Linked DNA regions of Homo sapiens: region 1 is linked to region 2. The links are contacts of gene promoters, found by promoter capture Hi-C in blood cells and fetal thymus (Javierre and others, 2016). All regions are on one chromosome and are shown on one strand. The core of a region is centred on a gene start or on the middle of the fragment in contact, and the rest is flanking DNA. Distances in the headings are between cores, read along the strand shown. Region 1 overlaps LOC105377376 (a long non-coding RNA gene). Region 2 holds the start of CAMK2D (calcium/calmodulin dependent protein kinase II delta).

Evidence for each region. Contacts are between HindIII fragments. The CHiCAGO score rates a contact against its expected background, and 5 or more counts as called.
Region 1: a fragment that was not itself captured here is called in contact with the fragment with the promoter of CAMK2D in region 2 in 1 of 17 cell types (activated CD4 T cells); the score reaches 5.6 in activated CD4 T cells.

The regions. Positions count from the first base shown.
Region 1 is chr4:114,019,669-114,024,911 of GRCh38, reverse strand. LOC105377376 (a long non-coding RNA gene) reads left to right here. Exons shown (of 3, transcript XR_939088.2): 3 at 1,443-1,546. Among named protein-coding and RNA genes, the nearest start is that of ARSJ, 43 kb to the right of the region's middle. The HindIII fragment of the contact is 1,475 bases long and covers 1,350-2,824 here.
Region 2 is chr4:113,759,543-113,764,228 of GRCh38, reverse strand. CAMK2D (calcium/calmodulin dependent protein kinase II delta) reads left to right here and starts at 2,491. Exons shown (of 21, transcript NM_001321571.2): 1 at 2,491-3,225. The coding sequence starts at 3,161. RefSeq lists enhancers at 1,224-1,762, 1,763-2,301 and a silencer at 2,295-2,704. The HindIII fragment of the contact is 14,700 bases long and covers 1-4,686 here.

The DNA.
Region 1 (5,243 bases), core at 838-3,337, 260 kb before region 2:
AAAACTCAAAAGAATCAATTTAAAACAAATTAATCATTACCTCATACAGCTCATGATGGAACACTTTATCTCAGAAGGATATTTAGGCCGGTCATTCACTCAACAGATATTTAGTATCTGCTATTGGTACCAAAGCTTACATTAGACACAAGAGACACAGGTAGGAGACAAAAGTTAATCGGACACAGTTGCTTGTCTCAGAAAACTTGGAACATATTAATATAAATATAAATTACTTCCCATAACTACATGGTTTATATTTTTTATAGGTATGATGAATCTATAAAATGACATTAGTATATACTATTTACGAGGACAGGATGGAGTGAATAAGAAAGAGAGGAAAGGAGAGGGGGATTTGATGCAAGTCCTCAACTTTTGAGGATGATGTCAAGAAAGAAAAACCACCCCTTCCATAGGACCACCATAACCACTGTCAGTATCTAACAGCCCACCTCAAAATAAACAGATCAGAGGAGCAGATCTTATGTTTTTACACTCTAAAGTCAGATATTTTCAATAACAGTGAAGGTAATCTGTCTTCCTGTGGAGTACAAGACTCAGTGTGCGACCCAACTACCATTAAGGGGTTATTAAAAGTTTTTATCAATAAACCATTGCATTTATGATATTGTAAATGAGGTACTAATTGAAAAAGGCATCTGCCAGATAAGGCATGTGTATAAGTGGCAGGCCCCACACATGATCCTTTAAAAATGGTAAACCAAAAATTTAGGCATTGTCTAATTTATGATAGTTACATTCAAAAATGATTATCATTCATTTATGTCCTCAAAAGAAAATACTACACTTTTACTATGCATTCATCACCTAGAAGATCTTAAAGTATTTGTTTATATTGATTTATATTTCCAAGCAGTATTTTTTACCATCTGAAAACAAATATTTCAATGTTTCTTCTGTTTTTTAACACAGAAAAATTTTTCTTCCACCCAGGTGTATAAGCAAAAGTACTTGACTTTAATATAGCAAATATGCAGAGGTAGAAAAAAATAATTTTATTAAGTGCTCATCATTATTCATAAAATACACAGCAAATGTGACAAAATCATAACAATTTATATAATACTGGAATAGTCTATAAAATATGGTTGTCCTTTGGTTTAAATGATACAATTTTGAGATTAAACGTGTTTTAACAAGCATTTTTTTTTAAACTAGTAGACCATGGGGATAAAAAACCTAGAATGGTCATGAAGAAACTAATAGAAGCCAAAATAAGCAAGACACAAAGTATGCCTTATTTAATTAAAGTTCAGATGAACTAATGTACACATACTACAAATTTAAGCTGTCCCTAGGCATTACTAACCTATATAACCAAAGCTTACATAGTTGATTTTTGTTGGGAAATCTAGCATTACCACAGTTTGTAGTCAATATTCAATGAGTTTTCTGACTTTTGCTCCTTTTTCTTCTAGGTCAGAGAGTCAAGTTACTAGTCAAATAATCGCCTAAAAATTAATTTACAAATGGTAATTACACTTAATCTTTAAAGGAAAAAAACCAACACTGAAAGTAACAGGTAGGTGGTTTTTAAAACTTAAATATATGTGACCTCAATAAAAGAATTCCCATTTTAATTAATTTGCTAAGAGTTAATTACCTAACCTGTATTTATGTCCCAAGCTAAAATGTATGTGATAAAAAAGATGATAGATAGAAGATAGATGATAGATAGATAGATGATAGATAGATAGATAGATAAGCAACATACAATACAGGTTATTTCTGTTATATTGTTAATAATCACATACATATGCATATATAACATATACACACAGAAATCTTAAACAGAAATTTTGATGGCATTCTTAGAACATCATAAAATGCCTATTTATTTAGTGCCCCTTCTATTTTTGACTTAGACTAAATTTGACTTTTGAATTGTGATTCAGACTTCTTCCTACTTACCATAAAAGAAAGAAAAGACTTATCCATATTCACCAGAATAGAGAAACACATTAAAATGGGAGGAAGTAAAACTGACTACACTTGTTTAAAGAGGAAGCAAAAGCTAGTAGATCTTTCAGGTTGGGCCAATATAAAGTATGCTTTGCAAGAATATAGTAAACAAATATCTTCTTTGAAATGGGTTTACGTTTCCACTCACTCCACACTCAAACATCACAATATTTGTAAGGAACATTTTCATGGGTAGAAAATGAATACAAAATTAATTTAAAATCCAGATTTTATTTGAAAATTAAATATATTTCATTTAGAACTAAGTTACGTAACAAAGAAATTGTGAAGGACCCTTTCAGTTACTTTGTTCTTGCAATAATACAGATACAATAAATTGCCTAAGTGACAGCTGTTCTATTGGGAAGTTAAAGGCAAAGGTGGAAGAATGTTTCCTTCAGCATCTTCATCCATGGTCTCTAAATTAATTTAGCAATTCTTCTATTAAATAGAACCAATTATAAAACCTAGAGTAAGCTCTCCATCTCTGTTAGTTATTGGGTTAGTTTGCTAAGGTTGCCATAACAAAATACCAAAAACTGCATCACTTAGATTAAGGCCCATATCACCATTCCCATTTTAATGTAATCACCTCTGTAAAAGCCTTATCTCCAAAACAGCTTCATTCTGAGGTACTGTGGGTTAGGATTTCAACATATGAAGTTGGAGGGGATACAATTTAGCCTATAACAGTTATTATTAGTGTCATCATGTTCATTACATTAATTCATTTAAAAATATTGTTTTACTTAATCTTCATAGCTACACTAAAAGGTATGTATTTTTTTTATCTCCATTTAACAAAAGATTCTAAGACCTCAAGTATCTCCATCAAGCTTCTTAAACAAGAAGTGATGAAACAAGAATGCCTTCTGTGAAATTAAGTTTCTTCTGGAAAGTGTGTAACCAAGAAAACTTCCAATGTGGACATTTTTCCATATCATCACTCTTCCCAACCTGCTGCTAGGAAAGTCCAGCTTGTAGCTTAAGAACATGCTCCCTTTAGACAGGCACAGCAGCCACACACAAATTAACACTAAAAATTGTTGGCCCAGCAAAAGCTCTCCAATTCTTATTTGCAAACTCTTTCTCACTGGTCAGGATTCAAAGCTTCAATCCCAAAGAGTTGATGAGCATTTATTCTTCATCACAAGTCTTCTTGCTTCAGAGTTTCAGCTTTAATATTTGGAAATGAAAAGCCAGTGTCTTGAAAATGGCCCAAAGGGCATATCTAAATACGTGAAACTGAAACACTCATACTTGCTTGGGAGCGTAGTATGGTTACCATGGCAGCAGCTTTGGGGACAGACAGCAGACAGCAGCAGCTGCAGATTCTTTTAGCCGTATTACATATATTATATATATGTAATATATATGATTATATACATATAATATACCAAGTATTCAAATAGTCTGTGCCACAAAACAACATTTCCACCAATGATAGACCACATGTACAATGGTGGTCCCATAAGATTATACCACATTTTTACTGTACCTTTTCTATATTTAAATATGTTTAGATACAAAAATACTTGCTGTTGTGTTACAATTGCCTACAGTGCTCAGTACAGTTACATGCTGTGCAGGATTGTAGCCTAGGAGCAATAGGCTATACCATATAACCTAGGTGTGTAGCAGGCTATACCATCTAGGTTTATGTAAGGACACTCTATGATGTTCACACAATGACAAAATCACCTAAAGATGCATTTCTCAGAATGTACTCCCATCATTAAGTGACTATATACTATATACTATAAGCTATTCAACTGAGCCCAACAAACATACTCTGGAACCCTCCTCTGTGGATTCTACGTTTGGGAAGTTCGTTATTTCACTAAGACTAAGCTCTTATCAGAAGTTCCAGTACTTTCTTCAGTCCATAGAGATCTCTCTGCAGGCCTCCACATCACATTATTCTATCAGACCACACAGATGTCTTTATTCTTGTTTTTCTTTCACTCCTTATTTCATTCCTTTCTCTTTTCTCTAAGGAATAAAGTAACTGAAAAAAAAAGTGCTTTCCAACACAATGTCCGGCAAAAATCTAATGAGTTATTTTATTCTGATTTAGAAGCATTTAGATGTAACAAAGAAAAATTGTTAGGGAAATAATACTGAAAGCTATGACTAAAATGGTATATTTTATCCTCTATAATTTTCACTTGTTTACGTTCATAGTTAGGAATAAAGATATGCTGTAAAAATCTCTAGTGATTTAAGCTGGCAGGATATATTTGCTTACTCTGTCACATTATATTTTCCAAATTCAAAACTGTTAAATAATTTTATTGTTCTCTTACTCCTAAATGCCACATAATGGAGTAATATTTTGAATTAATTCTTCTTGCTAGTTTATACAGATTATATATAATATATATTTATATATATATAAATATATGTTTTTTCTATATTTTTCCAAATGGGTGACATTTTAACAGGTGATATCATTTCCTTTTAAACAATATAATGACAACAACCACTGATTTAAAAAAAAATTCCATTTCAAAAAGAAAATTTGCTGTACTACGTAAAAATAACTTAGGATATTTATGTCCTCTTTACTCATTCCATTATTCCACCCTTTTATAAATCATACTATTTTATTCTCCTATAAAAAGAGAGAAATATTGCAGCCTTCGGTGACTTTCTGAATATGCCATGCATCACTGATGTGAGTGGTCCCTATGGCCTTTTCAAAATAGACTTCCTGTGAACCAGTTCAGTTTTTGTGCCTCCACCCTAGTTGCTATGATATGGCAGTTCTCAGGCTAAGAAGTGTCACAATGCCTTTCAAAACAAATTGATTTTAAATAGTTTAATTGCCAGTTGGAAAGGAAAAGTACATGAGATATACATGGGTTGGGTTTTGTTAGGTTATAAGATAAGTTTTCTTTATACAAGAAAATACTTAACAAAGCAACCAGTTAATTTGTAACAGAATTTTATTGGTAAGTCTACGAAATGGCAGATGTCCTTTTTCTATTTATGTGTTAAGTTCAGTGCTGGCATTAAACTCAATAACATGCAGAGACACAAACTTTGAGAAGGTTAGTTTCAATACAAAAACCTATATGCTGACCTTTTAAAAATTTTATGTTGGTCAGAACATAGGAAGTTGGGAATAAATTCTTAAATATTGTGCAATCAACCTATTGGTAACACATTCTCATGATTTCTGCCAGTTGGCACAAGCATAGGAACTTTACTCGCAAAGTATAAGTTTAATAAACTTATTATTTTTTAAAATGAAG
Region 2 (4,686 bases), core at 1,242-3,741:
TTCAAGCGATTCTCCTGCCTCACCCTCCAAAGTGGCTGGGATTACAAGCATATGCCACCATGCCCGACTAATCTTGTATTTTTATTAGAGACGGGGTTTTGCCATGTTGGCCAGGATGGTTTCGAACCCCTGACCTCAGATGATCCACCCGCCTCGGCCTCCCAAAGTGCTGAGATTACAGGCGTGAGCCACTGCGCCCGGCTAATCTGACTACTTTTTAAGGAGGTTCAAACTTCAGAAATAACTGTAAATATTTGTTCAAATAAGAGAAATATTTAGTCTAAAATATAAATCAAAGAAAGGGTACGTACAGATTAAGCAGTGTTTGCTGTAAAAAATGTACACATTTATTGTCTAATAATACATCAGTATTAAAACTCAGTTATGTTTCCTTTATTGTACTCCACAATTATAACCATTTACAATTATTGGTAGTTTAAATAACTGAGATAAATACTGTAATTATGTAGACTTCATTACTTGAATATTTAAGAAACAATTTTCTTCCCAGATGTAAATTTTTATATTACCTTTATTGTTTTAATTTTACTTTTTCTGTTTCATTCTTAGATTCAGGGAAAAATATTAAATTATTTCATTATCACCTTGGAGCCACATTGCTAAATAGTTCAGATATTACAAATCTTTAGCCAAGACCAAATTGTGTTTTTTTTTTCAATTTATAGCCCAATTATTAATATTTAGAGACCATGTTTCTTTTATGCAGTTCTTGGTATCATCTTTTTCTATAGCACTACATTTTACACAGTTATTTCTTGCCTTTTACGGCTGGGAATCAAAACACATACGAACTTCAATTTTGTTGTAATAAACGTTAAAATTTGTGAACATTTTTAGTACTTCAGTAAAAAGCTCACTCATTGGCAGAAGCGTTCCCCAGATCAGGAAAAAAGGAATTAGGATTATCTATGACCACAAAGTAACATTAATTAATAGCAGTCTTTGGGAGCAAGCAGCAGCGCCTTTAAATCTTAGATTCTCTTGTGTCTGCAAATTATCTTTTATCTTTCAGCTGTGAAATTTTGTCTATGAAGTAATACCACGAGCAAATTAGCAATAGGATTGCAAGGTTTTTATAGTCCCGTGCTGTAGAACAATTGGCAGTAATTTGAAAAAGACCGTCCATAACGCTGTTTTTGGTCTGCGGCTAAATTTGCAATTGCATAGTTTCATTAAGGAGAACTGGAAAGAGGGCCCAGAAGTTGTTCTAGCAATCGGCAGCAGTTTATCTATTTTAAATCGTAATGCATACTTTTTTTTTCCTCCTACTGAAAACAATGGCAGATATGCTAAAGGGAAGGACACATTCTTGAACTGCTAAATGGTTTTTCCAGATAGCCATTTACGGAGTGCACTCAATTGCCACTATCTGGCTGAAAGCAAAAGCACACACGACGGCCCCTTTTCTTTTTTCCCTTTGCAAAGCGAAACAGTCTAGACGTGTTCACGTGATGTGAATGACGTCAGCCCCCGCCGGGTCGCGTGACCGACACCCAGCCTTCCTACTACCTCCCCCTGACCGCCAGAGTGGGAAATATCGCGAGAATTCGCCTTACTATCAGAACTTACTGAGGTTGCAGGGGAGTTACTCAGAAGGGAAGGGAAGGTGTGGTTGTGCGGCGGAGTTTTTGCTTTCATTCTTTTAACGTTCACAGCCAAAGCAAAGGCCTTTGGGGATTGCCAGAGTCTCAGCCACCATCCTGGAAAACAGCGGGGGAGGTGGGCCTGGAGGTGGCAAGTGTAATGTGGCTCAGGGGCCGTCATTGCCCCTTGCAGAAGGGGCTGCGGGGGAGGGAGAAAACCTGCGCCCGGTTCTGGGGAGCTGGCGACGCAGTGAACCCTGCTGAGGCTGGGTTTTGCCCCGACAGTCGCTGGTGGCTGTGGGAAGGGTTGGGACCCTTCTCTGAGAGCAGTGAACAGCCCACATCCGGCCCCTGCTGTGTCAACTCTGAGCGGCGTGGAGATGAAGTGGTTGCTCTCCCTTGCTCGGCCCACCGGGTGTCGTGGCCCGGGAACCGGCCTGGAGAAGTCCCTGCTGCCCGGCGCCCAAAACAGGGGCGTGGGCTTCCGCGACCCAGGGCGGCTGCCCCGGGCCATCCTCGAGTTGCCCTGCATCTTCCCGCTCAGTCAGCCCCAGATTGAGGCAGCCTTCTCTGTGCGGGTTTAAATGGGTAACTGTGACTTCTCGCCTCATTCACCCAAACCTCCAGTCTTCTCCCCCGCACATCCTCCTCCACCCACCTGGTTTCTCCCTAGACTGGTGTGCTCGTGTGTGCAACCAAAGGAGGGAGTGCGAGAGATCCACGAAGGGACAGGCTTGGAGTCGCTAGAGGGAGGTGTGGGACCAGCGAGGAGGGGGCTTCGCCAGGGAGGGGGTGCTGGCAGGCGGAGGGAGCGGCGGGAGGAGGCGCCGGAGGAGGAGACGGAGGCCTGGGGACGGCAGAAGAGGCTTCGCCTGAGCCGAGCGCTCTTTCTCTCGCCGCGCCGTCTTGAAGCCGCGCGGGCTCGTGAGCAGCGCGAGGCCGCCAAGGTGCCTCGCTTCGCCGGAGCCGCTGCCGCCCGCCGGAGGGAAGCCGGCCTCGGGCGCGCACGCTCGTCGGAGCCCCGGCGCGCCCCGCGCCTGAGCCTGCTGACAGCGGCCGCTGGGCTCAGGCTGTCCGCTCTGGGCTCCGCGGCCTCGGCCCCGCTGCACTCCACCTCCGCCCCCTCGGACTCCCTCCCCTCTGCTTCTACTCCTCCTGCTCCAGTGCGGATCGTTTCGCAACTGCTTGCCACTCGTCCCGTGCCTGGCTGTTTTTCCATTTCCCGGCCCCCTCTTCTTGAGTACTTTACCCCCTGCATTTGGGGACAGGGACTGGAAAAGGGGCGGGTGGAGCGTCCAGTGGAGAAGAAGGAAGCGAGGCCCGCAGGAGGAGGAGGATCGGCGGACTGTGGGGAGGAGACCCCACGCCACCCTTTCTGGTCATCTCCCCTCCCGCCCCGCCCCTGCGCACACTCCCTCGCGGGCGAGCTACTTTCGGACCAGGAAAGTAAGAGCGGCCCTGGGTGACAGCGCCGCGGGGCCAGTCCCGGGGTTAGCCGCGCGTCTGCTCGCTTCTGGTCCGTCGCGCTCCCAGCCAGGGCACAGCCCGGACCGAGGATGGCTTCGACCACAACCTGCACCAGGTTCACGGACGAGTATCAGCTTTTCGAGGAGCTTGGAAAGTAAGCACCTTTGCCCGGCATCCGCATATCCCCTTTCCAGCTGAGGGCGGGTCGCGTTGCCCCCGACCCACCGGCCTCCGTCTTGGGGCGAGGGAGTTTGGGAGAGGAATGGGAGGAGGGCCCCTGGTTTGTCAGCTCTGGGGAAGGTGCTGTCTTAATAAAGGGAGGGAGCACAGAAGGGGTAGGACCCTTACTCCAACTGTGGCTCATTTTGATGGTCCCTAGCCCACCTTCTCCCGGTCCCCCACCCTCCTGCACTGAGAGACTTAGTGAATTTACGATCTCTGCAGTTGTAGCTATCATCCTGAGAAGTGTGCGCGCGCGCCTGTGTGTAATGTGTGTTTGGAGAGGAAATTAGAACCCATGTAAAATGCAACATAGATCATGTTTTCTGTAAATAGAGATGCCTCCTGGTTAGCCGGCGTGTCGGCCGTATGACCCAGGTACTGATGAGAACTCACAGCCTCAGACGGTGCCATATTTATTGATGCCGAAAGTTCAACTTGGCATAGAGTCTATTTCGCATCCAGTAGTTGTTCTGTCCAGGAAAAGGGCCACCCAACAGAACCCAACCCCTTGCCCTATATCCAGTGTTGTTCTTTGCACCAGATTACCGCTCACCATCATTCTTCCTAGGATTTACGTGTGCATCTTTGCGTTCTCTGGGAGGATTTATTTATACAGGCAACGGAAAAGCCCTCTGGAGACTGAGAGCGCTCTTAAGCGTAGCCTAGCATTGTGTAAAACCACCTCCTTCACCCGACTGGCAGAACTACTTGGAGATGTTAGGGAAGGAGGCAGGAGACCTACTGAGGACTTATGCAAAGGGACCTAGGGGCCAAGCCGTGAATGCTGATTTTTGTAGCATGGAACCCAAACCCAATTCCTCTTTCACTAGTTTCGACTGTTACTTTTATGAAAGGAGTGCGTTTATATGTATGTTGTTGGTTTATACTGTAATTAAAGGAAAGGTAAATATTTTTAAAAGTAATAAAAATTACATATGTATATATTGTCTGGTGTTAAAACATGGAGAATATGTCGGAAGAGCAGCTTAATTCAAATCTCTCCCCTCCCCCAGTCCAAAACAAGGCATAGAGAAATCACCATACCAGGATTTGTTAAACCACACTAATGTGCTCAAGATTTATATTTTAATGAAAATAATCGTCATGTTTACTTACTTGGAACCACATTAATTTTTTGTTTCCTACCAAAATAAGTAGGCAGCAGATTTTTTTGCTGCTCCTCGTCTGCTCTGTTCTGTGCAGGGTTTTTCTCAGAGCATTTGGTGCTGTGAGTGTGAACTGTAAAATGTTTTCAAATTTCTTGTGCAAACAAGAGCGGTCATAATTGGCAGTTCCTTTCATTTTGTTGATTAATAATGTGTGCTCCCAGTTAAATAAAATTTACTTTTATTCTTCAACATTAAAGAAAGTCTGGGTTTCCAGGAAGAATTGT